Linked DNA regions of Homo sapiens: regions 1 and 3 are each linked to region 2. The links are contacts of gene promoters, found by promoter capture Hi-C in human tissues and cell types (Jung and others, 2019). All regions are on one chromosome and are shown on one strand. The core of a region is centred on a gene start or on the middle of the fragment in contact, and the rest is flanking DNA. Distances in the headings are between cores, read along the strand shown.

Region 1 (3,895 bases), core at 962-3,461, 290 kb before region 2:
GAGATAGAACTGATAGGACCTATAGAGAGAGAGATGTATAATAAGGGATTTATTAGGGGAATTGGCTCACTTGATTATGGAGGCTGAGAAGTTCCATGATAGGCCAGCCATCTGGAAGTTGGAGAACAAGAGAAGCTGATAGCAAGGCTCAATTCAAGTCTGAAGGCCTTAGAACCAAGAAAGTAGTAACTCTCACACCAAGCCCAAAGGCCCAGGAGCCTAGGGGCATTGCTGGTGTAAGTCTTGGAGTCCAAGGACAACAGAGTCTGGACTTCTGATATCCAACAGCAGAAGGAAAAGGCCATCCTGGCTCCCAGAAAGAGCGAGAATTCACCATTCCTTTGCCTTCTTTTTCCATCTGGGAACCCCAGCTGATTGGATAGTAACCACCCACATTGAAGGCAGATCTTCCCCATTCAGTCCACTGACTCAAGTGCTAATCTCTTCTGGAAACACCTTCACAGATTCCCCTGGGGGCAGGCCTATCATTCTAATCAAATGCCAAAACAGTCCATCTGGGTTTCCCTTTCATCAGGAGAAGGACAAGCTCAGTGCCTACTGAAGCACTGAGAATAATTAATGCTTTACCAGCTATCTGGGTATCCCTTTGTTTTAGTCTATTCTCACGCTGCTACAAAGAACTGCTCGAGGCTGGGTAATTTAGAAAGGAAACAGGTTTAACTGACTCACAGTTCTGCATGGCTGGGGAGGCATCAGGAAACTTACAATCATGACAGAAGGTAAAGGGGAAGCAAGGCATCTTCTTCACAAGGTGCAGGAGGGAAAATAAATGGAGGAACTACCAAATACTTATAAAACCATCAGATCTCGTGAGAACTCACTATCATGAGAATGGCATGGGAAAAACTGCCCTTATGATTCAATTCCCTCCATCTGGTCTCTCCCTTGACATGTGGGGATTATGGGGATTACAATTCAAGATGAGATTTTGGGTGGGGACACAACCAAACCATATCATCCTTAGACCAGTCACACTGACACCCAATCAACCATCACAATAATCACAATTAACTAATACGAAGACCCACAGATACTGTGAGACTAATATGACAGCCCTCCCATCACATTTATCACAATGAATTATAATTTTTGGATTCCTCTCTAATATGGTAAGCTTCATGTTCTGTCAAGCAGAGACCACGTACATCATGTTTGCAAACAAATATTGTACTGTGTCCAGCACAGTGACTACATTCTTGTTAAACAAATGAGTCAAAACTAAAGCTTCTCCAGCAGTGTCTTCATATAACCTAAGAAAATGACGGAACAGTCCCCCAACTAACTTATTGTTTACGATTTATTTGTACCTTTACTGAAGGTACCTTTAATATTGTAAGAAGGCACATATATTCATTCTTTCACAATAATAAACAAAATAGTAGAGATGAGACAAATCATGACACACGGGAGTGACACACAGAGTGGAGTTTTATGGAGTTGGAGAATAAGATGATTGTGAAATTGAGAATAACAAATTTGAAATTTTATAGGCTGCTTTAGAGCAGAAGTATCAGATTTCAATTAAAAGTGTTTTTGAAGATGAACGTGGCATCAAAGTTTAGAATAGGAAAAAAGGCTATTGCTATTTGAATAGGTCAGTTAGACAGCAGTGGAAATATAAAAGTAGGGTTGGATGGAAGAAAAATGCAGAGAAAAAATTCCATCAATTAGATGAAATGGATAATGAGAAAAAAGATGCAGTCAACAATTATAGGAATATTTTGAGCCTAGGTGTGGGGGAGACTGTAAGAACACTGACAGAATGTGGAGATTCAAGAGGGGAGCTGGTATATGTCTGCATGCTTAGGGAGTATAAAATGATAGTGACTTTACTTTGAGATATGCCAAGTTTGAGAAATGCCACATTCCTTCCTATGTTTTATGAATACAGAAAATCTAAGTTTGATAAATGTTTCACCAAAGATCAATAGAGACTATCAAAGACTATCTCTAATTTATTGTTCAGCGAGTATAATATATGGTAAAATGCACTGATTTTAGGTGTACAGTTCACTAGGCTTTGATAAATATACCTTCCCAAGTAACCTACACACAAGTCAAGATACAAAACATTTCCATCACCCCTGAAAGTTTCCTTCTAGTCAAGCCCCACTCAAATGTGAAATTTCAATGTCTATCACCATAAATGGCTTTGCCTATACTTGAACTCTGTATATAATCATACGGTATACCAGATAGCATATGTTCTTTTATGCCTGGTTCCTTTTGTTCAATGTAATGATTATAATTCTTGTTAAATCTTCCAGTAGTTAATTCATAAGTATTCAATTGTATAAACGACTAATAACCTACTACATATAATATTACATTATATGAATTTACCATAACTTATCCATTCTCCTGTCTATGGTCATTTGGCTTGATCCAGTATTTGGCTATTAATAAACAAAGCTATTACAAACATTCTTCTCAGGGCTTTATGTTCTTATACAAAGCCATATATCCTTTCATTCTTAAGTAAATAGGTGTGAGGTTGCCAGGGCATTAAGTTTATAAGGAACCACTAGTTTTCAAAAAAATCCTGTAATATGTTATACCCTCAGGAGCACGGTACAAGAATTTCAGTATTACCACATCCTCACCAATGTTTGGTGAGCTCAGTCCTTTTATTTTTATCTTTTTCTTGTGGATGTGAAGTGGTACTTAAATTTACATTTCCATCATGGCTAATGATGTCATTATTATGGCTTCAAATGTTTATTAAACATTCTTATCTTCTTTTGTGAAGGTTCTGTTTAAGTAATTTGCCAATTGGAAGAAAAATATTTTCTTTGTATTTTTTGAGTTGTAAAGCTTTGTTAAATATTCTAGATTCAATTCCTTTTCATACATATGTATTGCAAACTATTAATATTTGCCCTTTCTGTGGCTTGCCTATTAAAAATGTTTTTTTATAGGGAGCCTTTAATGTTTGTGGAGTATAGTTAACTGATTTTTTTCTATAATGTGAGTGCTTTTAGTATCCTAAGAAATAGTTATCATCTTTTGACTTTTTCTAGAAATCTTATAAATTTTACTTTCATGTAAAGATCTAATTCAAAGTATATACTTTGAATCAATTTTTGTGTATGGTCTGAAGAAGGTGTTAAGGTTCATTCTGTTTCAATAATTGCTCTAGCAATTGGCTCTTTTTCTTTTTCTATTTTTTTTTTTAAGAGACTGTGTCTTACTCTGGTTGCCCAGGCTGGAGTGCAGTGGAACAATCATAGCTGACTGTAACCGAGTACCCCTGGGTTCAAGCAATCCTGCCTCAGCTTCCCAAGTAGCTGGAACTACTGATGTGCACCACCATGCTCAGCTACTTTGACTATTTATTTAGAGATAGGGTCTCGCTATGTTGCCCAGGCTGGTCTTAGACTCCTAGGCTCAAGCAGTTCTCCCACCTCGGCCTCCCACAGTGTTGGGATTATAGGCATGAGTCACCACACCCAGCCTCCATTTCTTAATGAGCCTTTCTCCTATATGTAACAAAATTGCTTTGTTATTAAATCAATTTACTGTATAAGTCTGTGTCTATTTCATGATAACATATTCTGTTCCATTGATCTATTTGTCTATCTTTGTCTAGTATCATATTTTCTTAACACTTTTATAGAAGTCTTGAAATCAGAAAGCTAGTCCCCCAACACTGTCATCTTTTTCTAAAATAATTTGACACTAATAAGTCCTTATAATTCTGTATAAATTTTAGAACCAATTTATTAATTTCCACCAAAAAAACATAAACTTTTGGGACTGTGTTAAATATACACATATTTTGAAATAAAAATCTTAATATAGAGTCTTCCATTTGCAATTTCATTTACCAAATGTTTCTTACTGTATAGAAATAGCACTGATACTTTACATTTAT
Region 2 (3,847 bases), core at 120-2,619:
AAGGAGAGAAGCAGGAGTGTATCTGGGTGAAGAAGCGTGGCTCAGTGGCTATACAGTGAGACGCAGAGATTCCACAGAGCTGGGCTTGCCCACCTGTCGACCCCACTTTCCCCATGTGCTCGCCGCGGGATGACAACCACAACACTCCAGAACCACCCCCCTTCCGAAAGAGGGCGGGGTTACGCCTTCAGCCAATCAGGACCCGCGAGCCCCGGGTGTCCAACCTATGGGGTGGCTGTGGCCGTGCAGGGGGAGGACGTGGGGTGGTCTGGGAGGGGCCGCGTCCGTGGGAGGCTCGCACGTGTCGGGTCCGGAGAGGCGGGGAGGCGGCCGGCGTCCAGCGGCCGAGGCGCGGGCTCTGCACCCTGGCAGCGGCCGAGTCCGGCTGCCCCAGTGCCTCCTTTACCTCGCGTTGGGCCAGGCAGGGCGCGCTCCCGCCGACGAAGACCTGTCCAAGGTGTCCGAGCTCCCCGCGAGAGGGGACAGTCACGAATAACAACAGTACCCAGCGCAGACTAGGCGGGGAGGAAAGTTTCCGGCCCGCAGCAGAGCGGAGTCCGCCAAGGCTGGAGGAAAAGGGATGCAGAGCGGGAGGGTGAAAACCTGAAAGAAGAGGGCAGCGGGAACACTGTGTGGGCAGGAACGGGTCCCGGGGGCGACGCCCGCAGGGGGAGACGGGTGCGGGGTGCGCTGTCCAAGGTGCAGGGGAGGTGACTGGCGCGCGGCGGGCGCGGAGCCCGGAGCTGACACTGGCTGGCGGGCGGAGGGGAGAGCGGGGAACAGCTGTCTGGGGCGCTGGGCACCCCCGGGCGCGTAAAAGTGAGGGAGCTTGAGACGGGGCACGGCGGGGAAGGGCGTGGGGGCTGCACCGAAGCCCCCACGCGTCCACGCACCCCTCCTCACCAGCCTCACCTCTAGCTCCACTCCCCTCCCCCCTCGCCCACTCCCCTCTCAGTCTAGATCCAGGTGCCGTGGCGGGGGTGAGACCAGAGGACCCCGGCTCGGAGCCCGGACGCCCCAGGGAGGCTGCGGGCCCCGGAGCTGCTTACCTGGGGCCGCCGTATGGGGAGCGGAGGCAACCCGCTGCGCGGAGTGGGGCGCCGGGCGCGGCGCGGCTCCTCCTAGCCTCGGCGTCCTCCTCCTCCTTTGCTTCTCCCGGACTCTGTCCCGGGCACGGAGCTGGGAGACGCGGCCGGGCTGCAGTCGCCGTTCCCTCTGCTGCCGCCGCCGCTGCAGCAGACAGAGGACGCCCCGTGGCGGCTGGAAGCCTGTGTGAGTAGCGGCGCCCGGGAGAGCGGGGATCTGCTGAGGGGCGCTGGAGACTCCGCGGCTGGAGGCGCGCGGGCGTGCGCACGCGCGCCTGCGAGTGTGAGTGTATGGGTGCGCGCGCGCCCACGGGGTGGGGGAGTCGCGAGGGGAGGGGGAGAGAGGCCGAGAGATGCTCGTAGGGACCGAGGCAAAATTCTACGACCCCGGAAATCCGTAAACGCGGGGAAGGAGGATCGAACGCGTGTCTCGCTTGGAGAAGCTGCCCACGGGGCGGCAGCAGAGGAGGAGGGGAAGTCAGCGAGGCGCGCTAGGGCTCCGGATCCCAGCCCGGCAGAGCCGAGCGGAGCGCGCAGCCACCGATGCAGCAGAGGCGGCGCCCGCAGCCCACGGTCGCGCTGCCCCCTCTCGGGAGGGGCCGAGGCCGCTCGCTCCCGCCACCGCCGCCGCGGTCGGGACTGCTCTACTGGGAGCGGGGGAACCGAGAGAGGGACCGCACGGTTGCTACGGCGACCTTGGAGGGGCCGGGCCCGCTGAAGGGCCAAGAGAAGAACCCGGGCGCACGTGGCCGACTCCAGGCTGGAGCGGGCGTGTTACAGGATTGTGGGCTTGGGGTAGACGGTGGAATTGGGCCGCGTGGCCTGGGCAGATGATGCGGGGTGTGCGGCCCAGAGTGGCTCGGCCGGGGTGCGGTCAGCATTCAGGTTGGTAAGGGTGAGGGGATCCTAACCCCAGGTGACATGTTGCCTTTTTTTCCTCCTTGGAGGCTACTTTTTCTCAAAGTTACCCACTTCCCAGGTAAGAATGCCGGCCTCCTCTTTGTTAGGATTCAACTTAGCTGTGCAGGCATCTAAGCAGTGCCTCCTTAGAGTCAGGCTCGTCCAAGAACCGCTCCCACCACCTCCCCACACACACCCACATCCCCCGATCCTCCATCCCAACTACATTGTAATACTTCAGAAATAAATGTTTAAAGCACATTTACATTCTCTGCCTCTTAACAGATATATTGTCTTAGTAGTATACTTTTCCTTGCTTATTTTAAATTCTGAGTGGGATTTTATTCACACAAGCATTTCTTCAAGGGTCGTAAGGTCTGGGTAATACTTGAAATACCCTTTCTGGCAGGAATCCTCAATGCAGGGATTGTGTTTTGCACACTTTTGCATGCCTTCCAGTGCTTAGCATAGTACTCTGTACTTTGTGAGTTCCCTGTAAATGTTGAATGAATGACATTGTTTTCTAGCTTCACGTAACCTGAAGGCAAAGACTTGGATGCTGGGAAAGTCATTACCACCCCACTAGGCTTGCCTGATTTTAACTTATGCCATTTCCTTGTGTGTGGCTATTTTTCCCCCTGGCGGTCAGAACCCCAATGCAAAGAAAGAAAATAATACTTATCCATTGTGCACCCTTAACAAAGGATGCATGTAGAAGCACTCTGCAGGGACCCCAGTGGGATGCCCTGGGTGTGAGGGGGCCAAAGCTCAGAACCTAACCTCTCAAAATGTGAAAGTCAGTGTTCACCAGCAGTTTATACTGTCCCTTCTAGAGCAGAAGGATGGGGAAAACAGTTTTAAGAGAAATACACTTTTGTTTTTTGTTTTTTGAGACGGAACCTCGCTCTGTCACCCAGGCTGGAGTGCAGTGGCGCGATCTCGGCTCACTGCAACCTCTGCCTCCCGGGTTCAAGCGAATTCTCCTGCCTCAGCCTCCTAGTAGCTAGGATTACAGGCGCCGGCCACCACGCTCGGCTAATTTTTTTTTTTTTTTTTTTTTTTTTTTTTTTTTAGTTTTTAGTTTTTAGTAGAGACACAGTTTCACCATGTTTTCCAGACTGGTCTCCAACTCCTGACCTCAAGTGATCCGCCTGCCTCGGCCTCCCAAAGTGCTGGGATTACAGGCATGAGCCACCGCTCCAGGCCAGAAATACACATTTCTAATAGCTTATCAGGTACGCATTTTTCTCCTGTAAAGAGTAGTGTTCATGGACACTGACCAATACATGCAGGGTCACCCCAGACTGCTAATTCTGCTGTCTGGTGTAGCACCAAGTCCACATCCTTCGACCTCGGTATTTCTACAATCATCGTCTTAGAAGCAGAAGTCTTCAATTTTGCATTTCATGCTAAATTTCAATTCCTTTGAACTCAGGCCCGCCTATGAGCTGCTTCTCTCTCCACTCATGATACCACAGCTGTGAAATATAACTGAAATAAAGTGAAAATTAAAATGGATTTATTTGGGTACCGTGTGTTCTTTAGTGGGGGTCCCTTTAACTGATTTATCTACCTTCACTCAATTGACAATCTTCTTAGAAGACATTTGTTGTGATATTGGAGCTTTTTTATTAGGTTGAAAGCTTACTTAAATTTCTCACTTGAAAGGAAGCTCTAAAACTTGCAAAAGAAGCAGAAAAACTCTGATACCGAAAATGGACCCTTGACAGCCAACCTATAGAATGGGTATGAGTCAGAATTTTCCAAAACAATTTTAAAGCTTCATTTTCCTTAGAAAGTTGCTTTTAGGGTTTTGTTGGGCTCAGAAACTAATACCGGAAAATATGGCACTTTGACATGCT
Region 3 (3,513 bases), core at 621-3,120, 310 kb before region 2:
CAGCTTTGTAAGTTACTAGCCATGCTTCATAAATAGTCTAAGCATAATTTCCTCATTTATAAAATATAAAAAATAATATCTACTATACAGGACTGTTAAAGGACTATACTTGCCAATATATGTAAAAAACAGTTCCTGGTATAAATAAGCACTGAATAAATGTTTTAGCTACTATTTTTAGTAAGCATAGAACGTCTGTAGCCATAAACCCACAAAAATAAAACTTCCTGAGAAAGAAGACAATGTTTGCACACTTTGTTAAAACAATTGTTATGTTTGTTGCATAGAAAAAAATCAGATTCACCGTGATTTTTTTCTACATGTGAATACCATTTATTAGGCTCCCTAAGTGAATGAGCTAGTAGAAAGGAAATATTATATTTAAAAAACCCCATAAGGCATATTTTTAGAAACGGTATTTCCTTGACTTTCATTCCAGGAAAATTCTAACACACGGCACGGTGCATGTGGAGCCCAGAAAAGAAAGCCTGCCAGATGCCACAGCAATAAATAGAGTAGGGCCTTGGAGACGAAGCATAAAAGGAAAATGTGGAGCATCATATCTGCAGCACCCTTCTCCATCTGGTATTTAGCCCACTGAGGTTATGGGATTTTTGGAAATTCACCTTTGTAGGCTACCTTTAATTATTTTTCTTGTTTATTTGTCCAGTAAACATTTAAATTGTAGCCTAATATGAGCCAAGTTCTATGAAGGTCTTCCAGGACCTTTGGAAAATGAAGCTGGGTACGGAAATTTCAGGAAAAAAATGTTCTAAGTACAGAGTAATGAAAGGTTAATACTATTTACGTCTTGCCATCTCTTTTTACAATATTAATTTCACAAATACAATTTTAGCATTTCCAACCAATAAATTAAGCAACAGCATATTTTCTCAAATGGCAGGAATTCTCAGACAGGAATAAAAGGGAGTAGAATTTCTTAAGTGGGTTATGTCTCACTTTGCTAAGAAGGGCAGAAATGAAAATAGGTTTTCATAAATTATATTTTCTATGGGTCTTGTATTATCATTTTTATAAACAGATATTTTCCAAGCAAGTGGAATTTCTTCACATCGTCTCTCAATTTAGTAATCTTTCTGATGAGCAAACTGAGCTGTAGAATGTTGAACATTGTTTCATCCTACTATGACTGTCATCCTTTGGCTTGTTGAATATATATTCTTGTGATAATTCTAAGAAACTATGACTAATGGATTTTTATCCAGAATTTTAAAACAACAAAAAGTTATTTTAAATTAAATGAAAAATACATTCTATTCCCTTAACTTTTCTTTTTTGGGGGGATTACACATTCTCTGCTAAAATTTAGGATGGAATTTCTAACAGTGATGGCATTGTTCGGTAACTAACAGTCTTTTGTGTGTGTGAAAAATTCTAAATGAGTGGAAATGATCTCAGAAATTTTATCTTGAAAATGTTTGCCTATAGTATTTATTCAAGTGTTGTCCACATTTTAGGAAAGAACTTCAAAAATGTCCTTTTCATAAAAATATGCAGTTCTCTTGTGTCTATTTAAAAGGGAAGTCCCTCTCCTAACTCCAGCATACGCACTCATCTCTGGGCTATCAATAGAAGCTAAAGAAAAAATTAAAGAAACACTGGCTGCATGCCAAATTTTGGGTTAATAGGGAAGAGAAAGCTGGTTGGCAATCTCCCTTCCTAGTCCTTATCTTTTCCTCCCCTTATCTCTCCTGTGCTAGGGGTGCTGGGATGTCTGTACTCTGTAACCTCTTTCTCTGAATGGAGACAGAAGCAGGAAGTCAGGTGCCCTGCACTTTAATGTCTTATTATTCTTCTCCTTGAGTAAATCCTAACTGTTAACGGGAAATAAAATGCTATATGTAAATGAACATCGTCACTTGGAAATCATCATTCTGGGCTACAGCACCAATACACCTGTAATCTTAAAACATCCTTTTAATAGTAATGAATTTGTCAAAAAAGTATATTAGGACATCTATATTCAAATTAAGTTTACCACTGGCTTAGGTTTTTAAAATTAATACAAGTTGCTTAAGATGGTGAAAGGCCAAACTGTTGTGATTCCTTCCACTATGTATCATCCTGGAGCAAAACTCATAGGGGAAAATTAGATATTCGTGAAGCAAGATAGCGAGGGTTTTTGTTGTTGTTGAGGTTCCCATCAGGAACAAGCTTATATTATTGGATTTACTTGAGAGTGTACAACTGCCCTTGAAATGAAACATCACCTACTTCCAACAAGTGTGCTCTCTCCCTAGTTCACCCTAATTAAGGAGGCTTCCCTATATTAATTTTGTCTCTTATACAAGCATCCTTGAGACTCTTTGTGCTTAATTATTTATGTCTATGTCTCAAGTATTAAGAGCACACTTGAAATTTAAGATTTTTCTAAGTTTCTAACACTTACTAGCTTTGTTTTTTGCTTAGACCTGTTAATCTAATTTTGTCTTCTCAACACTTTTGGGAATAATGCATTGCTTATCCTTAAATTTTGCTTTGCAGTTTCTGTATGAAAGATTCCAAATTCAGGTTTCAATGTATTTGAAACGAAGTTGCTGATTCCTCTCACTGGAATTAAGACCTACACTTACTTTTCTCACTCTTCTTTATTCTATTTCAAAGTTTGATGAATATTTTCTCAAACTGTATTTGAAAAATTTAGAATCCAATACCATGACCAATCTTCCTCCTGCTAAGCCATTGGTGGTCTAACTATTACTTTTTAAGAAAAATTAATATGGACCCTGATGTAAAAAGAAAAGAAAAACAAATATAGAGTGATTTCAGCAGGTCTATTACTAGACATGTTTTCTCATGTTTCTCGGTAGCTTGACCCTCTTGTCTGGTATTCCTGAGAGAATGGGCCTACCCACAGAGAAAGGGAGAAGGAGGTAAAGAAGTTGCAGGTTTGCTGGTGATTTGAGATGAATCCTCATGCAACAACTTGAAGGCAGACAGATTGGAAGAGCAGTGAGTTGATTTTCTAAAGTAAAATCCACCAGAAAGAGTTTACACGGTGTTGGAATTCTACCACATTTACAAATTAATGTGCCAGATGCCATCAGCAGATCTATCATTATGATGGCTATTGATAAATATCAAAATTTGACCATTAAGAAAATAGTACTACTAATCTCATACTGGGGATATCAGTACCACTACAGAAAAATTCTACTTAAAAACATATGTGAGCTAAAAGTGAAAAGCATTTCCCTGCTGATTCCACATGTCCACAACAGCCTAAGCAGTGTGGAGATGGCCAGCGGAGCAGCAATAGGGAACGTGTGCCAACATTTCTGATAGGAACTCTATTTTCTGAGGATTTAGGCTCAATTATGAAAGTCTGCTGAAAATGAAACTTGGCATAAATACTGTAGCTTAGTAGAATTCCATCAAATACAACAAAAATGAAGATTAAGGAGAGGGAAATCCTATAAACTCAACTTTCAGAAAAGACCAGAGCATTGCTAAGGAAAATCAAAGGAAGTTCTCAATACTTATTAATTAATC

Evidence for each region. Contacts are between HindIII fragments. The study calls those that stand out against the background at their distance.
Region 1: a contact is called between a fragment that was not itself captured here and the fragment with the promoter of ENOX1 in region 2, in 5 of the 25 tissues and cell types used here (H1 embryonic stem cells, bladder, hippocampus and 2 more).
Region 3: a contact is called between a fragment that was not itself captured here and the fragment with the promoter of ENOX1 in region 2, in 2 of the 25 tissues and cell types used here (heart left ventricle and hippocampus).

What each region holds. Positions count from the first base shown.
Region 1 is chr13:43,493,206-43,497,100 of GRCh38, forward strand. The region is part of intron 2 of ENOX1 (ecto-NOX disulfide-thiol exchanger 1); the gene reads right to left. Among named protein-coding and RNA genes, the nearest start is that of ENOX1-AS2, 46 kb to the left of the region's middle. The HindIII fragment of the contact is 5,387 bases long and covers 1-3,895 here.
Region 2 is chr13:43,785,603-43,789,449 of GRCh38, forward strand. It overlaps ENOX1 (ecto-NOX disulfide-thiol exchanger 1), which reads right to left and starts at 1,370. Exons shown (of 17, transcript NM_001347969.2): 1 at 1,050-1,370. The HindIII fragment of the contact is 9,406 bases long and covers 1-3,847 here.
Region 3 is chr13:43,472,058-43,475,570 of GRCh38, forward strand. The region is part of intron 3 of ENOX1 (ecto-NOX disulfide-thiol exchanger 1); the gene reads right to left. Among named protein-coding and RNA genes, the nearest start is that of ENOX1-AS2, 25 kb to the left of the region's middle. The HindIII fragment of the contact is 4,893 bases long and covers 1-3,513 here.